Linked DNA regions of Homo sapiens: regions 2 and 3 are each linked to region 1. Evidence: promoter capture Hi-C in human tissues and cell types (Jung and others, 2019). All regions are on one chromosome and are shown on one strand. Each heading gives the region's core, a stretch centred on a gene start or on the middle of the fragment in contact. The rest is flanking DNA. Distances are from core to core; before and after follow the strand shown.

Region 1 (3,611 bases), core at 335-2,834:
TTCTATTTCGGAGCCCATACATGTGGTTATCATGATGATTGAATTTGGATCTCAGACATTTTGGTAGTTTCCCGATAATCTCACAGGCCTCAGGGCCAGTGTGTCTCAGGTGTCTGGTGGGGGAGATTTCTCTGGATGGTCCAGAAGAAGATAATCTGCTTCTTACTCTCCTGCAAGCTCTCCCTGCAGCCCTGCAAAGTCTTCTGGTGGGGTCTGCAGAGAAATTCCTGCCTCCTGAGTCAGCAGGAAGTTCCCAGACCAGCCCTAGGTGGCTTTAGGGGAGGAGCGCTGGGCAGGGAGCCAGCTGCCAGTGCCGCATACCTGAAGCCAGGTGTGTCTTTGCAATGCCTGCGCACTTCCTGTTTGTCACCTGGACCAGGGCTAGCCTCGGTCGCAGAGTTTCCCAACCCCAAGTTCCTGTCTTGTGTCTCCCTTAGTGAGAGTGAAGTTGAGTCAATGGCAAGGTTCTGGTTAGTTTGAGGACACAGGGTGGCCATAGGTCAGCCAAAGGCCAACTAAGCCATCTCCTGCCTCTGAGTCCTTTGGGATCATTTATTCGGGCACGGAAGAGAAGAAACGGGCAGAATCAGGAATCAGACCAAGCATAGAGAGAGGAGAGAGGGGATTATTCATGTTCCAGTTGGATCATAAACATGTGTCCACGTGTGGGGAGGACGTGGAGGGTGGGAACCACCAGCACAGGCAACACAAACACAGATGTAGGCAGGACTCGCTTTTGACGTTGGACGACCATTGCTGGAGCACTTGCTGTGCACCAGGCTCTGTTCTAGGACCTAGAGATACAGTGACTAAGGAGATTAAAGCTCGGCACCACCCTGCCCTCCAGAGCTTGCAGTCGGCTGCGCAAGACAGACTGCAAACGAGCACAAGATGAATGGAGAAGACAGACCATTTCTAAGAGTTATCAATGAAAGTGATAAGCCAGGGAGATGTGATAGAGGAGGCTGGACAGGACAGCCTCTCCTATAAAGTGACATTGGAACTGAGACCTCAGTACAGAAGGAGGCAGTTAGGCAAAGATTTGGAGGAGTCGCCTGGGTGAGGGGTACAGTAAGGGTAAAGGCCTGGAGCTGAGATGGACTTGCTTTTTACATTTTACATCATCAAGGCGGCTGGTGTAGCCGGAATACGATGAGGAAGGAGTAGATAGGAGGGCAATGAGGTTGGAGAGATCAGGAGGAGAGACTAGGCAAAAACTAGTGGACTTTGAATTTTAATCTCTATGACCCAAGGGTTTTAAGTGAAGGAGGGGCCCGATCTGATTCGCCGTTTAAGAGGATCACTCAGGCAAAAATGGAAACAATGGCTTTCTGTGCTGCACAGGAAATACACTTAGAGAGGCACGCCCAGGTGAGCCCGAGCACACCGACACGCGTAACGCACAGCGACCCTCTCATTCGCGAGGCGACCTCTTCTACCCCAGATCCTCCCTGCGAGCCGGTGACCCCACCTGGAAAGAGAGGACTCCCCATCCCAATAATCCTGGTTCTGGATCTGCCCTGGGGCTCCACTCACCTGGGCAGGACCCGCGGGGCTCCCACGAGGCTGGGTCCAGGCGGAAGCTGAGGCTCCGCGGCTCCGGGCTGCTGTCACCCCCGCCCTCCACCTTGCCACCGCCCCAGCCTTCCCAGACCACACCTAGTGGGAACTCAGCCCAGTTACCTGACCACACCTCCTGCAGACCCCGCCCCCTGCGGGCCCCGCCTCAAACTAACTTCCCAGGCCCTTGCTCCGCCCCCTTAAAACCATTTTTTTTGCTACTAGCCACGCCTCCTTCTGCATCGCACCGCTTTCTCCATAGACCCCGCCCACTAGGGGAGCACCACGCATCCTTTCCTGCCAGTGGCCCCTCCCCTTGTATATAGCCACGACCACCGCCGAATGACTACGCCCACCCGCAGCCACCTCCTTCTCAGCCCCGCCCCTTAGGGCAATAGAAGAAATTTCATCCCAACGTTCCCGCCCCTTAGAACCCTGCCCCTCCCTTCCACCCAGGCGGCCCCAAGCACCCATGGCCCTTTGGGACCAGGGCGGGGTGGAGTGGGGTGCCTCTCTCCCCTCCCCGCCAAGGCTCCGGGTCAGGGCAGGGCAACTCCCTCGGGCTCTTACGCCAGGCTGGGGTAGCTGCGGCAGCTGTGACGTAAGGAGGGGTACGCTTCCTCCAGACCGCCCTCCCGGATTTTCCGGAAAGAAGCCCCATTTAGGTGGCGGGTTTTGTGGAGAGACGTCCGGGAAAACGCGACAGCTTCCTTCAGTGACAGCACGCTGGAGCGGGGCGGGACTTTGGTGGAGGTGGAAGGCAAATCATTCAGGTGGTTTCCCAGGTGGGAAGAAGGGTGGGGGGGACTTCCATCGTGATGCCTGGAGACGAACAAGAGAAAAGGTGACAGGGACCTAGTGCAAGAGAGAGGACTCTTTGGCCACGTTTATTGATGAGTTCCTCATATTAACATCAGTCTTGTCTTGTAGAGACAGGGTCTTGCTATATTGCCCAGGCCGGAGTGCAGTGGTGATCATAGCTCACTGTAGCCTCAACCTCCTGGGCTTAAGCTATCCTCCCGCTTCAGCCTTCCAAGCAGCTGAGACTAAAGGTGCACACCACCACACCCAGCTGATTTTATTTTATTTTTTGTAGATGTGGCGTCTTACTATGCTGCCCAGGCTCTGGAACTCCTGGGCTCATGCGAACTTCCTGCCTTGGCCTCCCAGAGCGCTGAGATTACAAGCAAGCATGAACCACTGTGCTTGGCCCCAGTAACCACAGTCTTAAAAGCAGTAGCAGCAGCTAACATTTATTGAGCACTTACTGTACACAAGGGCTGTTCTGTCAACTTGCCTTTATTTTATTTTATTTTATTTTTTGAGATGGAGTTTCACTCTCGTTGCCCAGACTGGAGTGCAGTGGCAGCAGTCTCAGCTCACTGCAACCTCCACCTCCCCGGTTCAAGCGATTCTCCGGCTGTAGACTCCCGAGTAGCTGGGATTACAGGCTAATTTTTGTATTTTTAGTAGAGATGGGGTCTCGGCCAGACTGGTCTCAAACTCCTGACCTCATGTGATCCACCTGCCTCGGCCTCCCAAAGTGCTGGGGTTACAGGCATGAGGCCTCTATTTTAATTTTCAAACAGACCACCCTGTAAGGGTGGTAGGTAGTATTTTCATCACTTCCATTTTCCAGATGGAGAAACTGAGGCACAGGGCAACTAAACCATTTGCCCAAGTTAACCTGGCTTGTAAGTGGTAGAGGCGAAATTCAAACCCGGAGCTCTGGAGCTTTATCCTGTCTGCCTCCTTTTCAATCTTCGCATGCCCACTTTCTCCACGATGCTGCTTTGCGGTGAAAGTTACTCACCCACCATTTTACAGATGAGGAAATTGAGGCCTAGAGGGCCAACGATGCTTGGGGATGAAAAGTTTTGATGCCTGTAGGTTGCAAAGCAGGGAATTTCCAGACTGGGCTCCCCCGACTGGCCCTGGCAAATATGGAAGAGACTCCAGGCTCAAGAGGGGAAGAAAGTTTCTTCCTTATCCCTCACCGGTCTGGTATTGGTACAGTCAGAGGGTAGGGGCATGTTCAGGGAAGGGGTCTA
Region 2 (3,611 bases), core at 411-2,910, 850 kb before region 1:
CCCGGCCAGTTTATTTACTTATTTTTAAGAGGCGGGCGTCTTGCTCTGTAACCCAGGCTGGAGTGCAGTGGTGCGATCATAGCTCACTGCAGCCTCCAACTCCCGGGCTCAAGTGATCCTCCTGCCTCAGCCTTCCAAGTAGGTGGGATTACAGGAACACACCACCATGCCTGGCTAATTTTTTGTAGTTTTTGTAGAGATGGGGGGGTCTCACTATGTTGCACAGGCGGGTCTCAAACTCCTGGGCTCAAGTGATCTTCCTGCCCTGGCTTCCCAAAGTGTTGGGATTACAGGCATGAGCCACCGCGCTCAGGCAAGGCAACTTCTGACAATATAATTGTGCTGTGAGCGAGGTAAAGCCAGGCTTGGAGAAGGCTCCGATTGATGATCCTTGGGTCGGGGCGAACAGTGGGTCCTCAAACAGGGCCCACGTTTCAAGTCCTGGAAAACCCACCTATCTTAGCGGGCAGGTATATCCGATGTCTCCGTTGAAGGCCTTCAGTGAGGTGGCTTCGTCTCTTGAGGTTTATGTCCAGGATCAGGGCTGCTCTTCCACTCGGGGTCACAACCTCTGGCTCACCACCTTGTCAGGAGCCAGCCCACTAAGTCACGTTTCAGGCCTGAAAACCAACAACAAAAGATCCGTAAAGACAGAAATCCTGGGACTGGCTCCTAACAACGGCCAGTGACAAGCTTTGTGGCAGTGAGCAGAGGTGTCCCTCAGGCTCAGCTCAGTCTCTGTGGGTTGCAGGACCTGCCCTTGGAGGTGGGCCTGGGTGGGAGGTCTTAGGGCCCCAGGACCTGGGCCACCTGGGGCTTTTTTTTTTTTTTTCTTTTTGAGATGGAGTCTTGCTCTGTCGCCCAGACTGGAGTGCAGTGGTGCAATCTTGGCTCACTGCAAGCTCCACCTCCTGGGTTCAAGCGATTCTCCTGCCTCAGCTTCCTAAGTAGCTCGGATTACAGGCGCCCACCATCATGCACGGCTAATTTTTGTATTTTTAGTAGAGGCGGGGTTTCACCATGTTGGTCAGGCTGGTCTCAAACTCCTCACCTTGTGATCTGCCCACCTCGGCCTCCCAAAGTGCTGGGATTACAGGCATGAGCCACCGCGCCCAGCCCACCTGGGGCATTTTTGTTGCTGTACAATAGAAACAAGTTCTCTATATGTTCCCCAGGCTGGTCCAAACTCCTGGGCTCAAGTGATCCTCCCACCTAGACCTCCCAAAGTGCTGGGATTTCAGGCATGAGCCGCAGTGGCCGGTCAGAACCTGGGGCCCTTTTGAACTTTGATTCCTCAGCAATTTTGTCAGCCCTGGCTCGGGCTGAGAAGCCCCTGTGAAGCCAGAGAGGGAAAGGGACCTGTCCAGGGTCACACAGGAATCATGCGTCAAGCCTCCCCAGCCACGGACTTGTCTCCATCCAGGGCATTTCAGCCCCTGCAGGGCAGTGGCCTGCCCCTCCTCCTTGGAGCCAGGAAGGGATGCAGTGCCACAGGGATCTGGCTCTGTCCCAGGCCCTGTGGGGCTGGCAGTTGAGTAAGCAGTCAGGCTGGGCGCACCCATCCCTCCCCCACTCCCCACTGCCCAGCACAGTGCATTCATGCAGCTGGGCCCCACCCCATCTCCAGAGGCACCTTCCACTAGCAACAGTCTCCCCAGGCACAACACAGCTAACACAAGGCCCCGCAGGCAGGACTCTGGGACAGACGCAGGCCAGGTGAGCATCTGAACAAGGGGCAGTCGGCCAGGGTGGGCTTGCGGGAGTCCCCACCTTGACCTCTCTCCCTTCCAGCTGCCCAGAGCCCAGACCAAGCATGGACGCCGTGGATGCCACCATGGAGAAACTCCGGGCACAGTGCCTGTCCCGCGGGGCCTCGGGCATCCAGGGCCTGGCCAGGTGAGCTGTCCCCTCTCACCTTCCTGACCCCGGCCCCTGAGACCACTGTTCCAACCGTGTCCCCTGCCTCCAGGTTTTTCCGCCAACTAGACCGGGACGGGAGCAGATCCCTGGACGCTGATGAGTTCCGGCAGGGTCTGGCCAAACTCGGGCTGGTGCTGGACCAGGCGGAGGCAGAGGGTGTGTGCAGGAAGTGGGACCGCAATGGCAGCGGGACGCTGGATCTGGAGGAGTTCCTTCGGGCGCTGCGGGTGAGCCCCCACCTCACAGTCAAGGCGTGTGCCCTGGGCATGGGGCGACAGAGGATGCTGAGATGCGGAGACGGGGACTCCTCCCTAAGAGCTGCTGTTAAGAGGCGCCTGCTGGGGCATACAGCCCCAGTGCTCTGCACAGCGTCTTGGGGGTTTGGGTGTGCTACCCACCACCCCCAGTCACCACCTCCTGTCCCAGCCCCCCATGTCCCAGGCCCGGGAGGCTGTCATCGCAGCTGCATTTGCCAAGCTGGACCGCAGTGGGGACGGCGTCGTGACGGTGGACGACCTCCGCGGGGTGTACAGTGGCCGTGCCCACCCCAAGGTGCGCAGTGGGGAGTGGACCGAGGACGAGGTGCTGCGCCGCTTCCTGGACAACTTCGACTCCTCTGAGAAGGACGGGCAGGTGGGTGGCTGCGCGGGGGGCCCCCTCCCCAGGCAGTTCCTCGGCCGTGCCCCCTCACGGCCCTCTGTTCCCAGGTCACACTGGCGGAATTCCAGGACTACTACAGCGGCGTGAGTGCCTCCATGAACACGGATGAGGAGTTCGTGGCCATGATGACCAGTGCCTGGCAGCTGTGAGCAGCTCCGGCTCAGCCCTGCTGCCCTGGCCTGTCACTCCCCACCCCTGCCGGAGACCTCCCTTCCCTGGGCCCCTTCTCTCCTGGGCAGCCACACCACAGAGCGGGGAGGGGCAGGTGGGGGAATGGAGGCTGCAGGACTGGCTAGACCAGGTCCCTGCCGGTCCACCAGGCGGAGGTGGGACAAAGGTCCTAACAGGAGTCACTGGCTCAGGACCCCAGGGAGAAACGCTCTCCCCACCCACGCCATGCTGACCAGAGATCTTGCAGCCCCTGTGGATGCCCCCGCCGAGGTCCCCCGATCCCCGCACCCGGACTGCTGCTCCCTGCCCCTCCCTTGCGGGTCCCCCAGGAAGCCAGGTGACCCCAGGTGGGAGGCTGTGTGTGGAGGCCATCCTGGAAGGAAGTTTAGACCTGCCCAGGTGTGGAGCGAGGGGCACAGGGGCATCCTAACCTCAGAAACTGAAATAAAGCCTTTGAAAAAAAAATCTGTAAAACATCAACCCCCAATCAGAAGATGGCAAATGGGGAATAAAAATAGCAGGTAACATGTCCAGCGGGCCCAGTATCTACATTCTGGTGAGCGGCCCGAGGCTGGGAGCTCTGGGCGGGGGCAGACCGGCGGGGCCTTGCAGCAGGGGTGGGGGTAAAGTGCGGGTGGTGGTGGAGAGAACAGGGCTGTGGCTGGACCCCAGCACTGGTGACACGCTGGGTGGGAGCATGAGGCCCCAGGCTGCTGGAGGTCCTCGCCCGGGGAGGTGGAGGCCGTTCCTGGTCAGGGGCTTCCTGAGGCCCCTGGGGCATGCAGAGGCCAGGGTTTTAGTTAAAAGTTTAATGTAGTTCCCAAATACATTTCATATGACAATCTTACATAAATGTTCCA
Region 3 (3,611 bases), core at 823-3,322, 630 kb before region 1:
GTGCTTGTGATTGTGTGCCCATGGGAAGGTCTGTTTGTGTGTGAGTACCTGTGCACGTGAGAGTGTCTGAGCGAGCGAGCGAGCGTGTGTGCAACTTGCATAAATCTGTCTGGCACCAGCAAAGTGGCTCAACTGTCTTTAGAGACAGAGGTCCCTTCCCTCCTGTTGGGGACCTCTTGACCTGCTCCCTCCCCTCCAGCTTCACCCCTGTCCAAGGAGGCTGCTCCTGATCCCAGGATTCTACTGGATGGGGGGTTGGGGAAGGGTGTCACCTCCTTTCCTTTATAGGCATGACCAGGCATGGCCCCCACCACTTATGCCCACATCCCACAGGGCAGGATGTAGTCACATGGACACGCCATGCAGTCAGGGGGCCTGGGAAACATTCTCTCTCTTTAGGTGAGAGCTCTGGGGAAGAAGGGCTGAATGGACATTGGTGGACACTGGCTGTCCTGGCACAGCTGCCCAGGTGCTCTGCAGAGTAGATATTTGTGAAACATTAAGAAGGCCCTGGTGGCCAGGTGCGGTGGCTACACCTGTAATCCCAGCACCATGGAAGGTTGAGGCGGGTGGATCACCTGAGGCCACGAGGTGGAGACCAGCCTGGCCAACATGGTGAAAACCCATCTCTACTAAAAATACAGAAAATTAGTCGGGAGTGGTGGTGCATGCCTGTAACCTCAGCTACTTGGGAGGCTGAGGCAGGAGAATCGCTTGAACCCGGGAGGCAGAGGTTGCAGTGAGCCAAGATCACGCTATTGCACTCCAGTCTGGGCAACAAGAGCCAAACTCCGTCTCTCTCTCTCTCTCACACACACACACAAAAGGCCCTGGAGACAAAGGAACACTCCTTGTCCTTTTCTCCTGGCACAGCACAAGATTCTGTTGCTACATCTTTATTTACTGAGCATCTAGTATGTGCTGCACCTGGCACTGTTTTGTCTTTTTTGTTTTGAGACAAGGTCTTGCTCTGTAGGCCTGGCTGGAGTGCCATGGTACCATCACAGCTCACTGCAGCCTGGAACTCCTGGGCTCAAACAATCCCCCCACCTCAGCCTCCCTACTAGCTGTGGTTACACTTGCGCACCACCACGCCCGGCTAATTTTTTAAATTTTTCTGTAGAGACGGGGTCTTACTACATTGCCCAGGCTGGTTTTGAACTCCTGGCCTCAAGTGATGCTACGGACTTGGCCTCCCAAAGTGCTGGGATTCCAGGCACAAGCCACTGTGCCTGGTAGTGGACATTGTTAGCAGTGACTAAAGCAGAGAACGAGAAGGGGGAGGCCGCTGTAAACACATGAAGACAGGCAGCGTAAGAGAAAGTCACGAGGGCAGGAATAACATCCAGGCATACTTCAGATCCCAGCTCAAGAAACCACTCCCAGGCCAGGCGCGGTGGCTCACGCCTGTCATCTCAGCACTTTGGGAGGCCAAGGCGGGCGGATCACAAGGTCAGGAGTTTGAGACCAGCCTGGCCAACATGGCGAAACCCCGTCTGTACTAAAAATACAAAAGATTAGCCGGGCGTGGTGGCGGGCGCCTGTAATCCCAGCTACTCGGGAGGCTGAGGCAGGAGAATCGCTTGAACCTGGGAGGCAGACGTTGCAGTGAACTGAGATCGCACCATTGCACTCCAGCCTGGGTGACAGAGCAAGACTCCCGTCTCAAAAAACGAAAGAAAAGAAAGAAACCACTCCCAGACTCCCTGCCTGGGCGGGATCCTTTGATCAAGCCCTCAACATGCCTTGGGGCTCTCTTCACAATGGTAAGTTTGCATTTGTTTGTGTGATTCTAGGCCTCCTCTTATTTTCTTGAACAGGCCTCATCTGGCTTTGTTCATCTTTATGTCTCCAGCATCCAGCACAATCCCTGCCATTAGGGTCATGGCTTCATAAAAACGTCACGAATGCAACGCAGAAGTGCATGCATGCATGAATAAATGAATGATGCATGAAAAGAGCAATCTCCCTGTCCTGGAAGCAGCTTCCCCTAGGGGTGGGGGTGGGGTGCGGAGGCAGGGGCAGCCAGTGATGTCACAAGAGGTGGCTGGGATGGAACGTTCTGGAAGGTTGAATGGGGTAGAAGGCCTGTTGTGGAGGGAAACCACCCATCCTCCTGCCTCCCACCACCACCATCATCCTGGCTGGACGGAGAGGGTGACGGGGGCTGGGAAGGGGCAGCTCATGTTCAGGTTTCCAGGAGGGGCTACCTGTTGACTGTCTTTGCAGGAAGAAGAAAACACCTGAGTGACCAGATGTCCCAGCTCCAGGTGCCTTGCCAGATGGCCAGAACCACACCTCTTGAAGAGTGACAGGTGCCAGTGGTATGGGAGAAGGGCATGCGTTTTCTTTTCTTTTTTTTTTGAGACAGGGTCTCACTCTTTTGCCCAGGCTATAGTGCAGTGGCACGATCTCAGCTCACTGCAACCTCTGCCTCCCAGGCTCAAGTGATACTCCCACCTCAACCTCCCAAGTAGCTGAGATTACAGGCGCCTGCCACCATGTCCAGCTAATTTTTTTTTTTTTTTTGAGACAGAGTCTTGCTCTGTTGCCCAGGCGCAATCTCGGCTCACTGCAAGCTTCGCCTCCCAGGTTCACACCATTCTCCTGCCTCAGCCTCCTGAGTAGCTGGGACTACAGGTGCCTGCCACCATGCCCGGCTAATTTTTTGTATTTTTTAGTAGAGATGGGGTTTCACCACATTAGCCAGGATAGTCTCAATCTCCTGACCTCGTGATCCACCCGCCTTGGCCTCCCAAAGTGCTGGGATTACAGGCGTGAGCCGCCATACTCGGCCTAATTTTTATATTTTTAGTAGAGATGGGGTTTCGCCATACCAGCCAGGCTGGTCTTGAACTTCTGACCTCAGGTGATCCACCCGCCTCGACCTCTCAAAGTGCTGGGATTATAGGCACGCGCCACCATGCCCAGCTAATTTTTGTATTTTTAGTAGAGATGGGGTTTCACCATGCCAGCCAGGCTGGTCTCGAACTCCTGGCCTCAAGCGATCCACCCGACTCAGCCTCCCAAAGTGCTGGGATTACAGGTGTGAGTCACCACATCTGAACCCTACATGGCCTTTTAAAATTGTGAAACATATAATGCATATAAAATAACACAAAGCATATCTGTACGATTTAATGAATAACGATAAATATCTGTGTGCCCTTTTCACTTCGTGAAATCGAATATTACTAGTAACTTACAAGTCCTCTGTAGAGAACTCCTGAGCTCAAGTGATCCACCTGCCACGGCCTCCCAAAGTGCTGGGATCACAGGTGTGAGCCTCCGCACCCGGCCGATCGTGTGATTTTTAACGTGCAGTTCCCTGATGACCAAAGCTACTGAGCATCTTGTCCAGGATTTGTAGCCCTTTCCAGGCTCCTTTTTTGTGAACTGCCTGTTTACATTTTTCATCATAAAACACTGGGTTGTTTACATTTGTCTTTTAAATCCAGAGTTCTTTTCATACTCCGGATACTAATTTTATTTGCCCATTTTGCATTGCCATAAAGTAATACCTGAAGATGGGCAATTTATAAAGAAAAGAGGGGCCTGGTGTGGTGGCTCACACCTGCAAATCCCAGCACTTTGGGAGGCCGAGGTGGCGG

What was found. The method cuts DNA at HindIII sites, captures the fragments that hold promoters and counts their contacts. A contact is called where the count stands out against the background at its distance.
Region 2: the fragment with the promoter of CAPS here is called in contact with the fragment with the promoter of SH2D3A in region 1 in 1 of the 25 tissues and cell types used here (lymphoblastoid cells).
Region 3: a contact is called between the fragment with the promoter of ACSBG2 here and the fragment with the promoter of SH2D3A in region 1, in 1 of the 25 tissues and cell types used here (lymphoblastoid cells).

The regions. Positions count from the first base shown.
Region 1 is chr19:6,765,851-6,769,461 of GRCh38, forward strand. It overlaps SH2D3A (SH2 domain containing 3A), which reads right to left and starts at 1,585. Exons shown (of 10, transcript NM_005490.3): 1 at 1,537-1,585. RefSeq lists a silencer at 2,064-2,123. The HindIII fragment of the contact is 38,619 bases long and covers 1-3,611 here.
Region 2 is chr19:5,912,594-5,916,204 of GRCh38, forward strand. It overlaps CAPS (calcyphosine), which reads left to right and starts at 1,661. Exons shown (of 5, transcript NM_004058.5): 1 at 1,661-1,716; 2 at 1,792-1,896; 3 at 1,970-2,147; 4 at 2,347-2,553; 5 at 2,628-3,611. The coding sequence starts at 1,814. The coding sequence ends at 2,729. It overlaps RANBP3 (RAN binding protein 3), which reads right to left. Exons shown (of 17, transcript NM_007322.3): 17 at 3,546-3,611. The HindIII fragment of the contact is 10,666 bases long and covers 1-3,611 here.
Region 3 is chr19:6,133,595-6,137,205 of GRCh38, forward strand. It overlaps ACSBG2 (acyl-CoA synthetase bubblegum family member 2), which reads left to right and starts at 2,073. Exons shown (of 15, transcript NM_030924.5): 1 at 2,073-2,315. All of the region lies in intron 3 of LOC105372255 (a long non-coding RNA gene), which reads right to left. RefSeq lists enhancers at 1,037-1,940, 1,941-2,843. The HindIII fragment of the contact is 13,898 bases long and covers 1-3,611 here.